Regions from separate parts of the Homo sapiens genome. Here region 1 is linked to region 2. The links are contacts of gene promoters, found by promoter capture Hi-C in human tissues and cell types (Jung and others, 2019). All regions are on one chromosome and are shown on one strand. The core of a region is centred on a gene start or on the middle of the fragment in contact, and the rest is flanking DNA. Distances in the headings are between cores, read along the strand shown. Region 1 has its middle 24 kb from the start of ACO1. Region 2 holds the start of NDUFB6 (NADH:ubiquinone oxidoreductase subunit B6).

Region 1 (4,119 bases), core at 369-2,868, 210 kb before region 2:
TATCCTTGCCTAGTTTCAGTCTTTCATCATTAAGTTTGTTATTAGCCATAAGTTTATTGTAGAAGCCCTTTTTCAGACTGAGGATGTTTCCTGCTGTTCCTAGTTTGCTAAAGCTTTTTATTAGAATGGATGTTGAGTTTTGTCAGATTCTTTTTCTGCATTTATTGAAGTAATTAGTTTTTCTTTTTTTTTTTTTTTTTTTTTTTTTTTAGAGAGAGTCTCACTCTGCCACCCAGGTGGAGTGTGGTGGTACGATCAGGGCTCAATGCAGCCTTGACCTCTGGGGCTCAAGCAATCCTCCCACCTCAGCCTCCCAAGTAGTTGGGGCTACAGGCACACACCACCACACCTGACTAATTTGTGGTTTGTTGTAGAGATACATATTGCCCAGGCTGGTCTCAAACTCTTGGGCTCAAGCAATCTGCCCTCCCTAGCCTCCCAAAGTGTTGGAATTACAGGTGTGAGCCACCGTGCCTAGCCTATAGTTTGTCTTTGTTAGTCTGTTGATATAGTGAAATGCTGGTTGATTTTTCAATTGTTGAGTTGGCCTTGCTTTCCTGAGATAAACCTCTTTGTTCATTATATACTGTCCTATATTGATAGATTAAATTGGCTAATATTTTGTCCAGGACTTAACTGTTCTGGATATTTCATAAATGGAATCACAAAATATATAGTCCTTTGTGACTGGCTTGTTTCACTTAACATGATGTTTTCAAGGTGCATTCATGGTATAGCATGTAGCAGTACTTTATTCCTTTTTATTGCCAAAAAATATTCATTATATGGATATGCCACATTTATCCATTCATCTGTTAGTGGGAATTTGAGTTGTTTATACTTTTTGGCCATTATAAATAATGCTGGTATTAACATTCATGTACAAATGTTTGTATGTGCACGTTTTCATTTGTCTGATTTCAACTATAATTTCAATTATGGCTACATCAAGCATATTTGAGTCTTATAATTTTATTTACAAATTCGTATTCAAAAAATATAAATATTTAATGAGTATCAATTATCGATTTATCCCATCAAGTTAACAAAAAACCAATAATAATATCCAGAGTTGTGAAGGATTCTGAAAGACAGCTACTCTGTCCCAGCTGGTGAAAATTTAAACTGATAAAAGTTTTCTGGAGGGCAATTTGAGTAGCTAAAAACCAGGGGCTATCAGTGGTTAAATAAAGACAATGCAATAATACTAAAATCATGTTTTTAATTAACTTTCGGTGACCTGAGAAAAGTTTTTGATGTTATATTTTGAAAATGCAACATATGAAACTACCAACTGTGTGTTCCCCACTTACCGAGTTAGGACAGAGACTGATAGAACTAAATTTATACAGTGATACATCACCCGTGGGTGGTAGGACTATGGGTAGTTTTCAGTGGTGGATATGTATGTGTGCACGTGTGTATTTTCAAAGTTTTTGCAGTGAACATGTTTTACTTTAAAATGATAATGAATGTGATGTATAGAACTGTTCTTAATTTCACCTCTTTAAAAATCACTTTTATATTTTACAACACAACAACAAATATTTCCTTCAGGAATGCCTCATTTTGCTTCTCCAAAAGTTGCAAAACATCTTAGATAATGAGCAGTTTATTTGCAGTAATAATGTATTGGCTGTACTTGGGGAACTAGCTCACTGAACTTTTCCCTGTGGCAATACAAAAATGTCATACACAGAGGCATTATGGTGTTTATGCTAACTATGGCATTTTACACACCAGGGCTCATTATTATTCCCATTAATTTTGTGATTGTTAATAGCACTGCTATTAATATGATGACTTAACCTTTACAGATTTCAATCAAACATTTCTAAACTCAATAGAGAATGTGTCTAGAATGTAAGGAGATGTGTCTCTGAGTGGTGTTCCCCAGCAGGGAGCATATTTTCATATTCAATATATTTTAACTACTGTGATGCCTAGCTAATATTTTATTTATATTAGAGTAATATAAATAATTATTTATATTAGAGTAATATAAATAATTATTTATATTAGAGTAATATAAATAATTATTTATATTAGAGTAATATAAATAATTATTTATATTAGAGTAATATAAATAATTATTTATATTAGAGTAATATAAATAATTATTTATATTAGAGTAATATAAATAATTATTTATATTATATTATAATATAATATATATAATTATATTATAACATAATATAATATAAATAATTATTTATATTATAACATAATATAAATAATTATATAAATGATAATTATATATAAATGATTATTATATATAATAATTATTTAATAATTATTATTTAATAAGTAATATGAATAATTATATATATTATTCTAATGTAAATAATTATTTATATTATTATATACCCCATGATCCAGCAATACCACTACTATATATCTAAAGGAAATGAAATCAGGATCTCAAAGAGATGTCTACACCCGTTCATTCATTGCAACATTATTCACAATAGCCAAGATAAAGAATCAACTTAATCAATTCTTTAGAATTCTAATATAAATAAAAATTAGAAAAGTAAATGTTTTCTAAAAAGAATATCGGATTCAGGAAACTAGAGATAAGAAACAATTACTTCATTAGTAAAGGTATAAAAATTTGAAATGACAAACCAACTTTTGTAAAAAATATTTATGAATGTCAAAAGTACATATTAAATGGAAACAACCTATGGGGGTATTTTCTACATGTTGATTTTTGTAGTTAATCTTAAAATAAGCAAAGAATAAGAAGTTTTTAACAAGGAGCCTCATTTTATACCAAAAGTTGTTCTAGGCTTAAATCTGAGTGAAACAAACTATAAAATTCAAAAAGATAAAAATACAGAAGTTTCTCTACTTCAATTGTTGGGAACAGAGCAAGGCTCCCCCGAAAGTATATCACTGTTGCTAACAGATGGTTTAAGCTACCTTGCACCATCATTTATCCTTGGTCATAGAGTTGTTCATTAGTCTGTGTCAGCTGTATTTCTGTATAGTTGTGAAGTGTTTTACAAGCATTATTAATGCCATTATATATGATAAGCATAAAAGCAGTGAGCGCTATTATAATTTCCATCATTTTCTATTCTGTGGAACTGTTTACAAGGCATGATAAATAACTGTTGTTTAAAGGAAACATCTAATGGCAAAAATCTAACTGCTTAACAAAACATTCTGTTGCTAAGGACGTAGTGAAACAGGCACTCCCACACTTAGTGATGGGCATGCATGATTATACCACCACATCATGGAGAAAAGAAAACCTTTGTACACTGTTGGTGGAAATATAAATCTGCATAGCCATTGTAGAAAATGGTATGACGGTTTCTCAAAAAACTAAAAATAGAACTACCCCATGATCCAGCAATCCCACTACTATATATCCGAAGGAAATGAAATCAGGATCTCAAAGAGATATCTACACCCTTTCATTCATTGCAACATTATTCACAATAGCCAAGATAAAGAATCAACTTAAGTGCTCATCGGTGGAAAAATGGATAAAGAAAATGTGGTGTATATACACCATGGAATACTATTCAGTCTTAAAAAAAAGAAGAAAATGCCGTCACTTGGAACAACATGGATAAACCTTGAGGATATTACATTAAGTGAAATAAGCCAGGCACAGAAAGATAAATGCTGCATGATCTCAGTTATATGTGGAATCCAAAAAAGTTGAACTAATGGAAAGAGAGTATAATGATGGTTACCAGGGGGCTGGGAAGATATTGGTCAAAGGATGCCAAATTTCAGTTAGAAAGAATAAGTTCAAGAGACCTATTACACATCATGGTGACTACAGGTAATAACAATGTATTATACATCTGAAAATTTCTAAGAGAGTGACATTAAACATTCTTACCACAAAAAAAGTATGTGTAGTAATGCCTAAATAGCTTGATTTAGCCATTCCACAATGTATACATATATGAAAACATCATTTGTACACCATAAATTTACACAATTTTTACTTGTCACTTGAAAAATAATAATGCTACCATACCCCTGGAGAACATATCCATGGAGATTATTAAATTGCTGCCTCTCAGTTCCAAATCTATCCTTTTATACTCTGCTTTTGATGCAAGGACCAGGACTCTCAAACTATCTTTCTGCTTT
Region 2 (4,313 bases), core at 1,191-3,690:
TTATCACTTAAATACTAATTTCTATGAGGAAATCCATTTCAAGTTGTAAACTAGTGACAATATTTTTTAAAAACTATACCCAATTATGTAACTTTCATTAAACCTTTTACCTAAGAGAATTCAAAGTACTTCAAAATCTGTTTATAAGTGGCAGATTATTTCCACTAAGTAGGGTAAGATAGCCACAAAGAAAGTAATTTTGGACAATATTAAAAATGAATTCTGAAAAGGACATACTTACAGAAACATGATACTTCATGTAATAATGAATAATCCAGACAGGTACAAGTACATGAGTGAAAACAAAGATACTCTTTTTGTATACCCCATGGACCTGGGGGGAAAAACACATACACAAAATAAACATATCCCATTTTTTATATTTATGGCAGAACAAAAGGCATCAATGATGTAACAATGCCATGACTATTTTACAAAACTCTAAATGGCACATATTTTCTTATAGTCTGTAGGTAACCTCATCTACTCAAATATTCTTAGTAAATGCAGAGTCTGCTAGAAGATACCTACAAAGTCCAGACCAAAATGCTTAAGCAGTATTTTGCAAGACTATAACAAGGCATTTATAGATTTTTTAAAGACTTCCAAAAATATCCTTATTATAAGTTTGTTAAAGATAAAATATAGCAAAATAATGAAAGAATAATTTTAATGTATTTAACCAGAGTAATCAAACCTACAGAATTTTTCAGGTATAGTCATCTCCCTTATTTATTGATCAATGACACTCACATCATTTTAGGTATAAGGCAGACAACCTTGACAACGCCAATGCTGGAAAAAGGACGTTTTACATACTAAGATGGGGTGTCCCAAACTCACTCCAAAATGCCCTCTGCAACACTATTTTAAAAAAGAACTAAAAATGGAACTTTCCCATGTCTTCCAACTTGATTAAAAAACACCTATCCATTCAAGGAAGGGACAATCCAGAATCTAAGAATTATAACAGATATGATTATAAAAGAATAAATTAAAGTAAGGTAAGGTGAACTTCGACACATTATTATTTATTTACTTCCTTATATCACTTGCTGATGGATGGGATGTCAACTTTAAATCAGTGACTGCCAATATTCCGATAATGTCAGGGATACAAAGGGTGGGAGAAGAGTTGAATTTTACCACCATAAATAAGTATCCAATATCACTTTCTCAGAAAAATTTTCAACAATTCTATTGCACTAGACTTTGTAGCACAGTAAGAATCAGATACATGTTGATTACAATATGAACTCATATTCAATTCCTAGCTCCCTGACCACCAGCAAATCACTGAAGCTTTGTAGGCCTCAGTTTCTTCACATTTAAAATGAGGATTAGGAATATCTACCTTACAGGAATAAAGAAATGAAGTAACACATGTAAAACCCCCAGTAGAGTGCCAAGCACACAGCAAGCACCCGTGTGTTACGTAGTATTGTTACTACTATTATCCTGTCATCAGTAAGTGTTGCAGGTAACTGAAAGCAATTCTGAGATGTTTATCATCCATAACAGTCCTCAAGAAAATACCCAGAGGCCTTGAAAATAAAGTTCTTGAATGAGTGATTTTCTTCAAAGCCCAAAATGCGATTTTTTTAATGAAACACTGTGTTAAAAGTACAGAACGGTAGTTTAGAAAGGTAGCTCTTGAATGTGACTCACAAGGCATACCAACAGGACCCTGTCTTTTACGGGGATCACATGGGGCTGTACTATCAGCTAGGGGCTGGCTGTGCCCTCTGGTGGTTGGATACTGTGTTACTTGGTCTCTAGAACCTCACACTTAAAAGTCAGACAAGTGTCCTCAAATACTTAAATCACAGAATTTTAATTCTAGCGAGTCCTTGGTTATTATTCTGAGGGAAGATTTCTACAGTCAAAAGAGAACCAAACGTGCAGCGTCCTGGAAAACCTAAGTATTAAAATTCGCCCCCGTCCACTGTACTTGACAGTAAAAGGCATGATTCTCTCAAAGCCATACATATTCCTGGACTCCTGCCTCCCGAGACTCCAGGAGGACTCTCGGGACTGGCCAGTGTCCCAGAGCACTGAGCGTTATCAGTCCTTGGTGTGGCTGCAGGGAGCGGACGTTCAGTGTTCAGGCTGCCGGCAGCAGTGGGATGTGTTGGGGGGGACCGGAGAGGTCTGTCACTCACCATTTTCCTCCAAGGGGATTTATTCTCCAAAAATTTATTCCAGAATTTCTCCATAGGCCCCATCTTCTGTGGGGGCAGCACCGGCTCCCGAGGGCTCAGCTCCTGGTCCTTCAGCCATCGCCTTCTCAGCTCTCGCAGCTGCTGCAGCCGCAGTTTCTCATCCGGAGTGTACCCCGTCATGTCGCCGCTGGTACCAACGCAAAAGGACACGGCGCACCCTCGAACTACGGACTAGTTACTTAAGCGCGCTCCCGCTCTGCAAAGCGACCTTGCGGGAACGCCGAGCGCCGCGCGCGGTTATTACGTCACATCCTGGTTCCGCCTCTGCAAGGGCCCCAGATTCCTCGCGAGGAAAGCAGTGTGTGGGCATGCACAAAGGTCTCCACCTCCAGTTCTCTCTACGCCCACCTCCGCTATACCCGACCAAATTAGGACCGGGTGGGGACAAGGAGTACTCGTAGTTGTGGGGCCTGAGGAAAGTGACAGATTAGACGAAAGTATGCTAAATTAGAGGACTGGAGGTTTTGCTAAGGAAGAACTTGTATGCTGGGAGGAGGAAGGATAAGCATAAATGTTTCAGTGAATATGCTGGCCAGATTCAAAATTATTTGCTTGCCTCTCCCACCTTGGAATGACCTAGAGAGTGTATGAAAATAGTTACATCCCAGTTCAAATCCCAGCTATGCCAGTAACTGCTGAAGTGCCCTGGGCAGCTGTCTCATCTGTCCCTCCATCTGTACAGGAATAGTGAAAAGAGTAGCTTAATATCTAGCAAAATTGCATAGATGAATTCATGCTTTCACCCAAAAATACGTGTGGTGAAAATATGAAAGAGCATGCACGACTATTCAGCACGATTCATAATACCAAAATATTGGAAATTACCCCCAAATTCCTAAATAAAGGACTGCTTGAATAAATTGTAGTACAACAGTCAAAAGACAGCATTACAACGAATTAGTTTAAAAATCTTAATTGACTCTTATTCGTGATTCTAGAATCAAAAAACACCTCATTCTATAAAGTAGAATGAGTGTTCTGATCAGCTGAGCAGAGGCGGTTGGTTTTATTGGCAAATAGGGGCTGAAGAAAGCAGAAACCGAACAAAAAGTGGACTCATCGTTTCAAAGTTACTTTTAGGGTTAAAGCAGAAGAAACTTCCTTGTTTCACTGACTCAGACTTAAGGGAATTTCCTATTTTTTGGGAAACTGGCCCATTTCAAAGTTCAGTTTGATTGTGTGGTACTTAGCACAAACGACTCCATTCTGGTTTGGTCTGGTCTGCTGGGGCCTAGTGCGTGAAGCTAGTCCAAAACAGTGGCTTCCCAAAAACTTTCACACAACAAAGCAATGAAATGCTAATACAATCGTCAAAAGTAATAAGGAAGAACTCTATATACATCTGTGGTGTGATCTCCAGAATACATTACAAAGTGGAAAAAAAATGGATAGGAATTTGTACAGTATGCTTTTACCCAAAAAGAGAAAGATGGTGGTAATTTCAATATATATACATATTTTCTTAAATTTTCAAAATAATGGGAATGAAAACAATTGAGGTTTTTAAAGATGCTACCTATGGTGGAGGAAATAAATAGGATAGAGGAGACAGGGATAGAATCTAGACATCTCTGGAAACATCTTACTTCATAAATTTGACTTTAGAACCAAGTAAATATTTCATATTGTGAAATTAAATTTAGCTTAAAGATGTCTCCGTATTTTGAGTCCTTATATAATGAACTGCAACCCAACTTAGTATGCAATTTAACTCACAGCCTAACTTAGGAATATACTTCTGTAACAAATAACTGAGTCTCAGCCAATCATCACAGGTGGTCAACTGATCAGCCCATGTTCAAATAAGGCAAAGGCCAACCTGTAGCCAATCAAGCTGTTTCTGTATCTCATTTCTGTTTTTTTTCTATGCGTGCTGCCTGGCCTCTTTGTGGAACGATACTTTCTGAACCTCCTCTGGTTCTGAGGGCTGCCTGATTCTCAAATTGGTCATTGCTCAATTAATTTCTGCTAAATTTAATTTTTCTAAAGTTTTAATTTTAACAATATCATTACAAAACAAAATTAAATTTACAAAAAGCAGTCCATAAAAATCAAGTAAAAACCAGTAGCTCTTAATTGGTCCACTTGGTG

The links. Contacts are between HindIII fragments. The study calls those that stand out against the background at their distance.
Region 1: a fragment that was not itself captured here is called in contact with the fragment with the promoter of NDUFB6 in region 2 in 2 of the 25 tissues and cell types used here (heart right ventricle and spleen).

Annotation. Positions count from the first base shown.
Region 1 is chr9:32,358,269-32,362,387 of GRCh38, forward strand. No RefSeq gene overlaps it. Among named protein-coding and RNA genes, the nearest start is that of ACO1, 24 kb to the right of the region's middle. The HindIII fragment of the contact is 5,283 bases long and covers 1-4,119 here.
Region 2 is chr9:32,570,719-32,575,031 of GRCh38, forward strand. It overlaps NDUFB6 (NADH:ubiquinone oxidoreductase subunit B6), which reads right to left and starts at 2,441. Exons shown (of 4, transcript NM_002493.5): 1 at 2,163-2,441; 2 at 242-334. The coding sequence starts at 2,342. RefSeq lists enhancers at 1,989-2,528, 2,799-2,848. The HindIII fragment of the contact is 12,015 bases long and covers 1-4,313 here.